Linked DNA regions of Homo sapiens: region 1 is linked to region 2. The links are contacts of gene promoters, found by promoter capture Hi-C in blood cells and fetal thymus (Javierre and others, 2016). All regions are on one chromosome and are shown on one strand. Each heading gives the region's core, a stretch centred on a gene start or on the middle of the fragment in contact. The rest is flanking DNA. Distances are from core to core; before and after follow the strand shown. Region 1 overlaps LOC105378797 (a long non-coding RNA gene). Region 2 holds the start of CRYZ (crystallin zeta).

Evidence for each region. Contacts are between HindIII fragments. The CHiCAGO score rates a contact against its expected background, and 5 or more counts as called.
Region 1: a contact is called between a fragment that was not itself captured here and the fragment with the promoter of CRYZ in region 2, in 1 of 17 cell types (total B cells). The highest score is 6.4, in total B cells.

Annotation. Positions count from the first base shown.
Region 1 is chr1:72,283,715-72,289,078 of GRCh38, reverse strand. All of the region lies in intron 1 of LOC105378797 (a long non-coding RNA gene), which reads right to left. Among named protein-coding and RNA genes, the nearest start is that of NEGR1, 3.9 kb to the right of the region's middle. RefSeq lists an enhancer at 3,523-4,722. The HindIII fragment of the contact is 499 bases long and covers 2,372-2,870 here.
Region 2 is chr1:74,730,187-74,736,029 of GRCh38, reverse strand. CRYZ (crystallin zeta) reads left to right here and starts at 2,980. Exons shown (of 9, transcript NM_001889.4): 1 at 2,980-3,074. It overlaps TYW3 (tRNA-yW synthesizing protein 3 homolog), which reads right to left and starts at 2,878. Exons shown (of 6, transcript NM_138467.3): 1 at 2,612-2,878. The coding sequence starts at 2,785. RefSeq lists enhancers at 2,264-2,363, 2,744-3,033, 2,588-3,298, 3,894-4,183. The HindIII fragment of the contact is 10,326 bases long and covers 1-5,843 here.

The DNA of each region.
Region 1 (5,364 bases), core at 1,372-3,871, 2.4 Mb after region 2:
TGAAATAATTACAGTGGTTACTTTTAAGGAAGAAAATGGGGGTTATAATTTTAAAAAGGCTTGCAGAAGGCATTTGGAGTGTTGGTAATTTTCTGTTTCTTAATCACTGTGGAATGAAATGGATGTTAACTTTAAAATAGTGCTTCACTAATCTGTACCTTCACATTCTATGCACTTTTCTAAAAGTATATTGTTAAAAATGTGTATTTCAGAACAAAAAAAATTAAATGTCATAAACATGGGTGACTGTTATAAATTTGGAAAGGTATTTGATATAGTCCTTTAAAATTATTCCACTTCAAACCCGGCTGACTTTTTCTCATCTTAAGAAAAACCAATGATTTACTTACCCATGAATATCATAACTTACAACAAGAGCAATAAAAATCTCAATAGTTGCTAGAAGTGAACATGGAGTGAAGTGGCAATAGTTTTCTTTCTCCTTAGGGCTATGTTTTAAAGCTATGTTTTCACAATCTTGTGTTAAGAAAACTATATTAACAGTAAAAATTATCACAAATTAAAAATTACAAATTCTAGTCAAGATGTCTTCATAAGTTTACACAGTGAGGTACTTCCCATTTATACAGGCACACACATATACACAGACACACATATATCAATTATAGAAAAAAATATAAAATGCTAAAGGGACAAAATTAACAAGTCATAGTAGAGTCTGAAAATATACAAGATAAACACCTCTGCAATAAAAATCAGAACCTTTTAGGAAATTAAATAAATTACATAATAAAATAAAACAGAATAATTCTTTTGGAGGGTAAGATCTTACATTCATATGTATACATGTGCCATGCTGGTACGCTGCACCCACTAACTCGTCATCTAGCATTAGGTATATCTCCCAATGCTATACATATGTAACTAACCTGCACAATGTGCACATGTACCCTAAAACTTAAAGTATAATAATAATAAAAAAGAAAATTAAAATAAAATGCCACCTTCTCAATCCTGAAAAAAAAAAGATCTTACATTCATCATAGTTCAGTATAAAGTATAAAATTTGATGTTTATTTTTGAACAGAGGTGTTTGAGTTTCTTAGAAATATGTGAGAAAAAATCTTAAATAATAATTATTGGTTTTCCTGGAACCCACTGTAAATTATATAATGAAATATAGTTAAAGCTGTACTTGTTTTCTTACAAGTAGAAAGGTAGAAACTTCAGTTATTTGAAAATGATTTCTACCCATATCTATTGTAACACTGTTCTTTCTTGTTTAAGTACTTAGGTGAAATTTTCAGGGCCATTCTATGGAAATGGCTTGAAGAGCTCTGAAAGTAGAGTAGGTATCTCCGCACTCCTCCAAACATACAAACACACATATACGCTTCTAACTTCTTTGCTTACCCCCAATGCTGATGGTGAATAGATAAGATGCTAAATAAATTATAACTGAATAAATATATGATATTTAAATAGAATGACCCAATAGGCAAATAACTTTTTGCTTTTTTCTTCTTCTTTATGCAATAGCCATTTCCAGAGTGAATAATATGTAGCTGTCACAATATAAAGAAGGCAAATATTTACATGGGTTATTGCCCAAAATAAGCTCACCATTTACTTACACTTTTATTTTGGAAAAAACAACATAAAATGACAATTTCCTTTCAAAGAACTATTAGTTCAATACTTGCTTAAATAAAAGACCCCCTCTCGCCTACTTTACAATAACATTTATAACCAAACTATACATTACAACAATATAGAAGACCTTTGTTAGTGTATAATTGTAATGTTATTTGAGCAAGTCTCCTACAATTTAGGAAGAAATCCTAGAAAGTATTTTGTTGCCGTCAGCCATTAAATTCATTGCATCTGTGGTAACCTGGGCTACTCAACCACATGGCAAGTAAATGTAGAGATTGAACTGATGAGAAGGAGCTCTTTTTGTAGCTATAGAATCCAAATGAGATACTTTTGACAAAAAAATCTGCTTTATTATTTTATTTGAAAAACACAAGATGGTATATATTTTAGAAATATAACTTACAATGAAGTGGTTCTCAACTTGGAGTAATCCCCTTTCCAATCCACAGGACATTTAACAATGCCTGGAGAAATTCTGGGTATCACAACTATTGGCATCTACTGGATAGAGGCCAGGGATGCTGATAAACATTTTCCAAGGCACACAGAAGTCCCCATGCTCCACACACACACACACACACACACACACACACACAAATTACCTGCACCAAAATGTCAAAAGGGCCTAGATTGAGAAACACTTCTGTAGTGGAAGATTCCCCTCCACCAACAAATTTCTGGAACTCTATATTTCTCACCCTGACCTGAAATTCATCAGTATACGTCAGTTTTAGTTGGCAAGGTACTCCAAGCTTAAGGCAGCTTAATTCAAATAGAGAATCAATTATGGACCAAGTTAGAGCGCTATTATTCAGAGGTACAGTTTATAAGGGCTTCCTGACTGCCTCCTTCAGGAAATACAAAGTGATCTCATTAGCTCTTTCCATTAGGTCCTGGGACCCGTCTTGGCTAAAACTTCTCATGCTCACACAGTAATAACATGGTCTGTCGTGGGGTGGGGGAGGGGGGAGGGGGGAGGGATAGCATTAGGAGATATACCTAATGTAAATAATGAGTTAATGGGTGCAGCACACCAACATGGCACATGTATACATATGTAACAAACCTGCGCGTTGTGCACATGTACCCTAGATCTCAAAGTATTAAAACAAAATAACATGAAAGATGAAGCTGGCTTTACTCATTCACTACTAATAAACAAATGTAAACTTCTATTTTTTTCCATTCTAACAATCACAGTTACACTGTTGAATAAAAATCGAGTTTATTAAAGTAAGCAATCTTAAGAAGCTTCCTTATATAACATTACTCTTTCCAACATCCTTAGGGATTCAAAATACAGGTCATAGGGCATGAAAGGCAGGAGTGGAATCAATCTAGATAATGAAATAATCTGCAATCATAATCAGGCTCCACCTTTCTCCTTTTATACTAACTCCCTACTGATTATTACATTTCTTGAAATACTAGAAGTTGAGCTTTTAAAGCGAAAAAAGGTACATCATTATAAAGAAATAATAATTAATTCCAATGTCACTTCCTTAAAATTCTAACCAAAGGAGTAACCCATTATACCCACTCCACTATTTGCCTCTAAAATGTTCTAAACAATGCTATTACTAATTCTTCTATTTCAAAAAATTCTACTAAGGAACTATTTGCTATTTAAGCTTTTTTTTCTCATTTGGTTGTTGTTTGGTTTTGTTTCGATTTTCCCTCAAAAAGAGCCAAGACAATCCGAATTTAAGTCTCTGTTTGTAAGAATTCCAGGACTTCAAAAGCAAATATTAGAAACCACGTAAAAGCCTGTCAGATGTTTTGCCCTTAGAAAGGTTTAGGGAATAGGAAGTCATAAAAGCTTTTAAATTCATTTTCTTTAGTCAGAAGACTAGAAGTATAAGGGTCTGGAGAGGCTGCCCTACCTGACATTCTTGCACTTGCTGTAAATAATAGTGACGTACCTGTAAATACTTTCCCCCATAATCCAGACATCTATACACTAAGTTCAGTCATTGCTTTCTTTAGATGGGTTCTCCAAGAGTTAAGTGTGATCTGTGAATGGTAGTTGAGATAAAAAACTAGAAATAAGGAAAGGAAACTGTCTTTAAAAGAAGTGGCTCCAGTTTCCGTTTACAAGCCTGAAGGGTTGTTGTACATATTAAAACTGCAGCATAGCTCCATCCCTGGTCAAAGAAAACCCTCCTCCTACCACCCCCAACCCACCCCCGTGGACACTGAAGATGTCAGATCTCTGGGAAACAGCAGTCAGAAAAGGATGCTTTTCATAGCTTGTACTAGAAAACACTGGCACCCCCATCCCTGCTTAAAATAGCACTAAACTGAGTCACAATGCAGGAAGCTATACCTTCTGTGTCTCTTCAATAGAATCTAGCTCGTTTCTACTGAAATGCTAAATAATACTGCATAGCTTTGCCCATGTATGTGACATGTCAAGTCTTCTAATCCCCCGTTTGCCCTAGATAATTTTACGCTTTATCCATCAGCGTGCCACGCAAGATAGAAAAATGCAGTTAACAAGATGACAGTGTTACTTAGGTATTTGGCATCGATATTAGTGAGAGTCTGTCATTTCACAATTATTTCCCTAGCATACCAGACGGTAAAGAAAATGTTTTCATTCATCCGCAAATGACTAACATTTTATTGATGTTTCAAAATGCGGTTGAAACTATTGCACTCTCAGTTTCCGAGTCGGTTTTGAGAGTTAAGGCAGAATACTAACATCAGTGACTCCTGACGCAAATGTCTCCGTTAGCTGCCCAGCCTTGGAGTGCCAGTTCAGCAGGGAGGTGTTGCTAGTTAAGGATTCGTCTGTAAGCCAGTCTGGGTGGTCACAGGTGATGGGAACCCTTCCCTTTCCCCATATATCCCCGTGCATGGCGATAAAAATCACTCTGAACACTGCTACCACCAAGCAAAACGACTCCCTGCCTGCCTCGTAAAGAGCTCAGTCTGCGGAGGCAGCCGGATGCTGACCCCTGCAGAGAGTCTTGCTTCGGTGCGCTTTGCCAAATGACCCTGCTAGCATTATGGAAAACGAGTTACGGACGTGTGAGGTTTTGCTTCATTTCCTCCAAAAGAAGAACTGGGATCTGGCAAAGAATATCTTCTTCAAACACTGCTAAAGGGGGATGGGGTGGAGGAAGGGAAAAAGTGTGTGAGGGGGAGGGAGCTTATTTTTTAATTACTTATTTTCCATTTTCACTTCCCCGCTCTGCTTCCCAAACTCCTCGCTGAACAAGATTGATTGGTGTAACTGCTAACGACTCAGCCTCGGTTCTCGCATTGATTTGCAAATGGCCCGGAAAAGCTTAAGGATCTTGAATCTGGAAATGAGTTCAAGAAGGAAAGAAGAAAAAAGAGTAGGGGTGGCCCCACGCCTAGTATCTCCTTCTGCCTTGGGCCAGGGCAGGGCTGAAAACAGCCCGGCGAGCTGCGGAGGGGCTGCTGCGTGGGGAAGCGGAGGTTACCGCTCTGCACCGCGGAGGAGCAAGCCTGTTAACGCGGTGTGGAGGCTGTTAAGAAATACAACCCTGCGACTCGTTAAACCCCTTAACTCTGCCCTGCCTTGACTCGGATGCGCCGATTATTCGGCCTGATAGGCTCAAATGGGTTAAACTGCCTCTTACATAACTGGACCGCCTGGGCTCTACACAATTAAAACACTTGATTGCAGTCTTTTCCCGACTCTACATCCCAGCATGACCCGCCCCGTCCCTCCCAGCGCGCCTGCGTGCCGCGCGTGCACAGGCCCCCGCGCGCACG
Region 2 (5,843 bases), core at 1,731-4,230:
GATGGAGCTAAGACTGAAAGGTCAAAGTTTCATGAAGGCAAACATTTTAATATTAACTTAAATTGAACAAATGTTTATTTGCAAAGTTCTATTAGGTACTTTGGGTATACACAGAACCTACCCCTCAAGGACACTGGAAAGGGGATGCAGGAAACCACATGAACAGAAATCACTATACTCAAAGTAACTATAATTTATACGATGGATCCACAAGAGACTCTGCTGTCTGCCCTTGGAACCGGGAATTGCTATGCATGTCCTAAATAAATATTTTGACTTCATTGTATGACTTCGGTGATGGTGACTTACGTATCTGACATTGTGCTGGCTACTCTGAATCTTAGAGCCAAATGTATGGCCCACTTCTAGCAACTTTACAGGATCTAGTGGTGGGATTGGCAACTAATGCCATCGCTGGCTTCATCTTATCTATATTTTCTTTATCCAGATTTTCCCACTTTTTATTTTTTCTTGTGTTGCCTGTTTGTAAGTTGCCCCAAATCCTTACTGAAATAAGGCAGATTTTAAAATAAACCATAATACGAGGTGTAAGATAAGAAATAAAAGTCTAACCAGTACAGAAGCAGTCATTACTTCCAAGTAGGTAGTATGTGTTTGTGGGTTCAGGTGGGAGAGGGGAGTTTTGGGAATCATGTCTCAGATATGCAGAGATAGGAAAACATTTCAGGAAAAAAACCGCCAAAAAACATGAGCAAAAGCAAGTAAATACAAGATGAAAAGAACAGTTTAGTTTCAGTAACTAGCTAAAGATGAAGAAAAGCAATGAAAAAAAGGTTGAAAGGTATACTAGAGTAAGCATTTGGATTTTCTGATGTAGAAAAATGTGTAATAAAACATAGCATAGGTGAGAGATAAGCAGAGTTGCAATTTGTCAAACATGGTTTGGAGAAGAATAGTTAAGTGGCTTGTTAGAGAACCATTGCAAAAATCAAGGCGAGACAGAGTTATGGAAATGGGGCAAGAGAGAGTTTGTGGGCAAGAATGCCATTGCTCTGAAGGTGATGGAAGTGATTTAAAAATGAACAGGCCCTGCTAACTTGAGAGATCAGCAAATAAATGATCAGTCAATAATGGACCTAAAGAATGAGCCTAACAATGTGCTGTCTTCCATGCTCTTAAGCCAATACTACGAATAAAATCAGTACACAGCCAACTTTTACAGTGCATGGGCCAGGCACAAAGCCAAATATTTCAAAAAAAATTATCCTATTTTCTCCACACAAAATCCCTATAAAGCAGATACTTTTTATTATCCTCAGTTCATAGAACAGGAAGGGGCAGAGTTGAGATAGCTTTCCTAAGGTCACATAGCCCGTGGTTTTTAATCTAAGCAGTATCACTCCCAAGCAGCCTTATCCTCAGGGGATATGTCCCAAGACCCCCTAGTGGATGCCTGAAACCTCAGATCAATTTCTTTTTCCTTCTTCACTTCACAATTTCACTGACAAGATTCATTCTTTCCGTAGATCTTAGCAACCTCAGCATATGCTGTTTTTTCTTTCCTTAAGTCTTTCCTTAAGAACTTTCACCTTTTCACTTCAAAAAAGCACTTTAAAACTTACTGTTGGCAGATCCAAATCGCCAGCATCATTACTCCCGTACTTTGGGGCCATTATTAAGTAAAATAAGAGTTACTTGAACACAAGCACTGTGATACCACCACAGTCGATCTGATAACCCAGAAGGCTACCAAGCAGCTAAAGGGCAGCAAGAATATATAGTGGAATATTCTGGACAAAGGGATGATTCACCTTCCATTCTGGAAGGAGCTGGTTGGCTCAAGATTTTATCACGCTACTCAGAACAGCATGCAATTTAAAACTTACTAATTGTTTATTTCTGGAATTTTCATTTAATATTTTCAGACTGCTGTTGACTGGGGTAACTGAACCTGCAAATAAGGAGGTATGGCTTGTACAGCTGCTTCTTGATTTATGATGGGGTTACATCCCAATAAATCCGTCATAAGTGGAAAATGTAAGTCAAAATGCATTTACTACCCCTGTAAACCCATCATAAAGTTAAAAAAAAAAGTCTAACCATCCTAAATTATATACGATCGTACTTTTCTCTGCGTAAAACTACTAGAGTTGTAATAATGGAGGGGCTCACTAGGAGGCAGTAAACTCCTTAACACTGGTGATGTTCAAGCATGCAGTAACAATGATTTGCCAGAGCTGTTGATGAGCGGATTCCGGCATTCAATACCTTAGCAAGCTACAAAGTCTTTAGATTCCCTTAGTATTCATATAATAAAATCAAATTTTCTAAACTTTGCCACACAAGATAGTTCCCAGGTCAGCAGTTTCAACATCATTTGGGCACTTGTTAGAAATGCACAGTATCAGGCCCTACCCTACACTTAAAGAATCGGGATCTGTATTTTAAAAGATGCTCAGCTGATTAATAGCCACGTTAAACTTTTAGAAGCACTGATCTAATCCCCTAAATTTCACATATAAAGAAACAGAGACCACCCCTCAGAGGAGCAAACACAGACATGCTGGATCCGGTCGTCACTGGATGGGAACAGGGCTCCTGAAGTTTCGCACTAGAAGGCAGGCGATGGACAGGCGCAAAGGGGCCTCACCCGGTCAAGGAGTAGGATGCGGCCAGCGCAGGAGCTGGTGGTGAAAAACTGATCTCGCATGTTCAGAAACTGCACAAGCTCTACCACATCCTCGTCAACACTGCCCTTCCGGCTGAGGTCCGCTTTGCTCAAACATTGCGCCTTCCATTTCCTGAACTCCGCGCTGCGATCCATGGGTGACGGACTCAGGGTCTGCGCTCGGCTCCTTCATGGTAGCCTCGTCTCTCCCTGGGGGCAGCCATATTGAAGCGAGCGGTGGCCGAAAAGGTCCAAACTTCCTCTTCGTTCTTAATTTGGGAAATTCTAGTGCCTTCGCCTAGGGGTGGAGAGAGGCGCACATCCTGGGTGGAGCGAGGCGCACATCCTGGGTGGAGCCTGCAAAAGTTGGAGAAGGTGTGGCAGTCCTCATTTCTGTGGAATCTGAAGAAGCCCACGCAGATTTTAATTCCCACTCTAGATTCTGGTAAGTGGTTTTAAAAACTCTCCTTAGTTGTTTAGACAGCGAATCTCCCCACTGCTCGTCCAAGTGGAACCGAGTTTGATTTTGGCTGCACCCCTTTCCTGCCCTCTGTCCTCCCAGAGAACTAGTGCGTAGAGCTCCAGACCGAAGCCATTCCCCTCCAGGGGCTGCAAGTTCCCATCCATAAATCAGGTAGGAAGTTTTGCCTTCTGGTCCTGGGCTCCTAGCCCTGGTCCTGCGTTTAGGCTCTGAGTTTAGGCTACCACACCATGAGGTGTCCGTTGGCACTACCCCTGCCCAGCCTCCGCCCCCCGCACTCCCTGTCCCCCAGCCCCACGCTGCACCCCCCCCCCCCCCCCCCGCCAGTCACCCGCTTGATTTTTCCCTGCAGCCAGTGCCTGGGTTTGGGGATTCCTGCAGCAGCGCCCAGCGGTCTGTCCAGGGCCCCTTCCCACAGCCCAGCTCTCAGCTGTAGAGGATTTGTCCTAGGTAGGGCCCCTTCCCACAGCCCAGCTGTAGGGGATTTCTTCTCCTAGGTAGGGCCCCTTCGCACAGCCCAGCTGTAGGGATTTGATTTCTTCTCCTAGGTAGGGCCCCTTCCCACAGCCCACCTGTCAGCTGTAGGGGATTTCTCCTAGGTAGGGCTCCTTCCCACAGCCCAGCTGTGGGGGATTTCTTCTCCTAGGTAGTGCCCCTTCGCACAGCCCAGCTGTAGGGGATTTGATTTCTTCTCCTAGGTAGGGCCCCTTCCCACAGCCCACCTGTCAGCTGTAGGGGATTTCTCCTAGGTAGGGCTCCTTCCCACAGCCCAGCTGTAGGGGATTTCTTCTCCTAGGTAGTGCCCCTTCGCACAGCCCAGCTGTAGGGGATTTGATTTCTTCTCCTAGGTAGGGCCCCTTCCCACAGCCCAGCTGTGGGGGATTTTTTGTCTTGGATTCCCACAATTACAGGTTTCCCGGAGCTTCCTCCAGCTTTGCCATCAGGATTGCAGTCTTTGAGAGAAATGTATAGTTTTATTGACCCTGTGACGCCCACCACCTAGAATAATCTTCAAAAGAAAATTACAAAACACCCTGTTAACACATCGTTGGATGTTTATACTGAGTTTCTAGAGGAGACTCAGTGACCAGGGAAGGTGTGTCAATGATTAAACCTAAAGGCTAAAGTTTGGAATGCTTGTCCGTAGCTAATGGAAATTGTTGTGCGAGTCCCTCTGAAGCCACTGTGATTACGTGTCTGGTTAGCGCAGCGAGTTCAGCAGCAAATCTCTCCAAGCTCTACTCCTCCAGCATTAGGGAACAGACTGCCCTGTTCCATACGATCATGGAACCTGGAGGAGTCCGAAATTATTAAACTCCTCCCCTCTTCTTACCCCGTCCTATCTCAAGTGAACAGAAGTGACCTGATAAGATCACACAGCCAGGAAGAGACTTTCTCTGACCACTTGTAATTCTTGCCTTTTTTACATTTCTGGGTTAATAATAAACCATATGCTTACATGAGTCATTGTGTATTAGCAGCAGAACAATTTGTAATGATTGATTTTTTTTCTAAGTTTTCAGTTTTTAAAATTCTTGCCAGAATTCTTATTTAATTTTACTTTTGCTCTTGTCTCATAATGTTCCTTTGCTCTGGCTTTGTGACTTGATCTGTTCATCCTATGTTAAAATATACTCCTAACATTTTCCCAATTCCTTTAATTTTCGTTTAAATCAAATGGATACAAGCATAGCCAGGAAAAAGATCACTGTTGGAAGAGGGATTTTAGATTTTCTATTTCCTAGATTTGTAAGGCATATTGGCAACCTTTCAGAGGTAAAATTAAACCAAAAATTAAACCAAGGGACTCTTAATTTTTAAAAGTTTATATTTGATAAACAGGAAGGCCTATTTGAAGTATAGTTTAATTAAAAAGCACAAGCAATGGAAAGGCCTGTCCTGTTCACAAGGATCCGATGCTAGGGAGTAATTTTTTTTTATACATTTTTAAAAATAGAATCATGTCCTTTGTATTTCTGCTGCATTCCCTGACTTAGTGGGCATTTGAGAAATTTCAAACTCTAAGCAGATGCCTTAGTCATAAAATATGCGATTCTACCTGCAGGTTAGTTTGATTTCACATTTTCTAGCTCAATCTGTCTCACTATCACTATTGTAAAGTTTATTTCTACGAAGTAAAGGGTCTTATATGCCAGCATCTCAAAGGGTGAGATGAAAAGGATGGTAAAGAAAAAAATCAGCTAACACCATTTAATTACAGGACTTGGGTTCTAGCTTTGCTTCTGTGTGACCCTGACCAAGTCTCTTAACCTCTTGTGATGTTTTCTCATCCATAAAATGGATGGCGATTTTATTTTTACTTCTGCATAAAATAATAGTTTAAATAACTTCTCTACCTGTTCTGAAAACAGTTAAGTCAATGGAGGTGGAAGACTTATGCTTTTTAGAAGAAATCCGGTATTACAGGATTTTAAGTATTATCCTATTTGCCATCAGTATGCCACGTTATTTTATTCTTTGTGTAATCTCCTTTGACAGGCTTCATCGTTATGAAGCATATGATGATCCCGTGGATAGGTGAGTTCAAAGGCAATGAGTGCAGGTTGGAGCCTGATGAATCAGAATGCTAAAGGCTCAGTGGGAGATAAGATCAACAGAAGCAAAGTAGGAGATAGTGTGGTCAGGCCATGCCCCATCACTTTCAAGCCTGATAGGATAATGTAGTCAGATAGTACTGGGCAAAGCAGATGAGTCTTCCAAATCCAGTAGGAT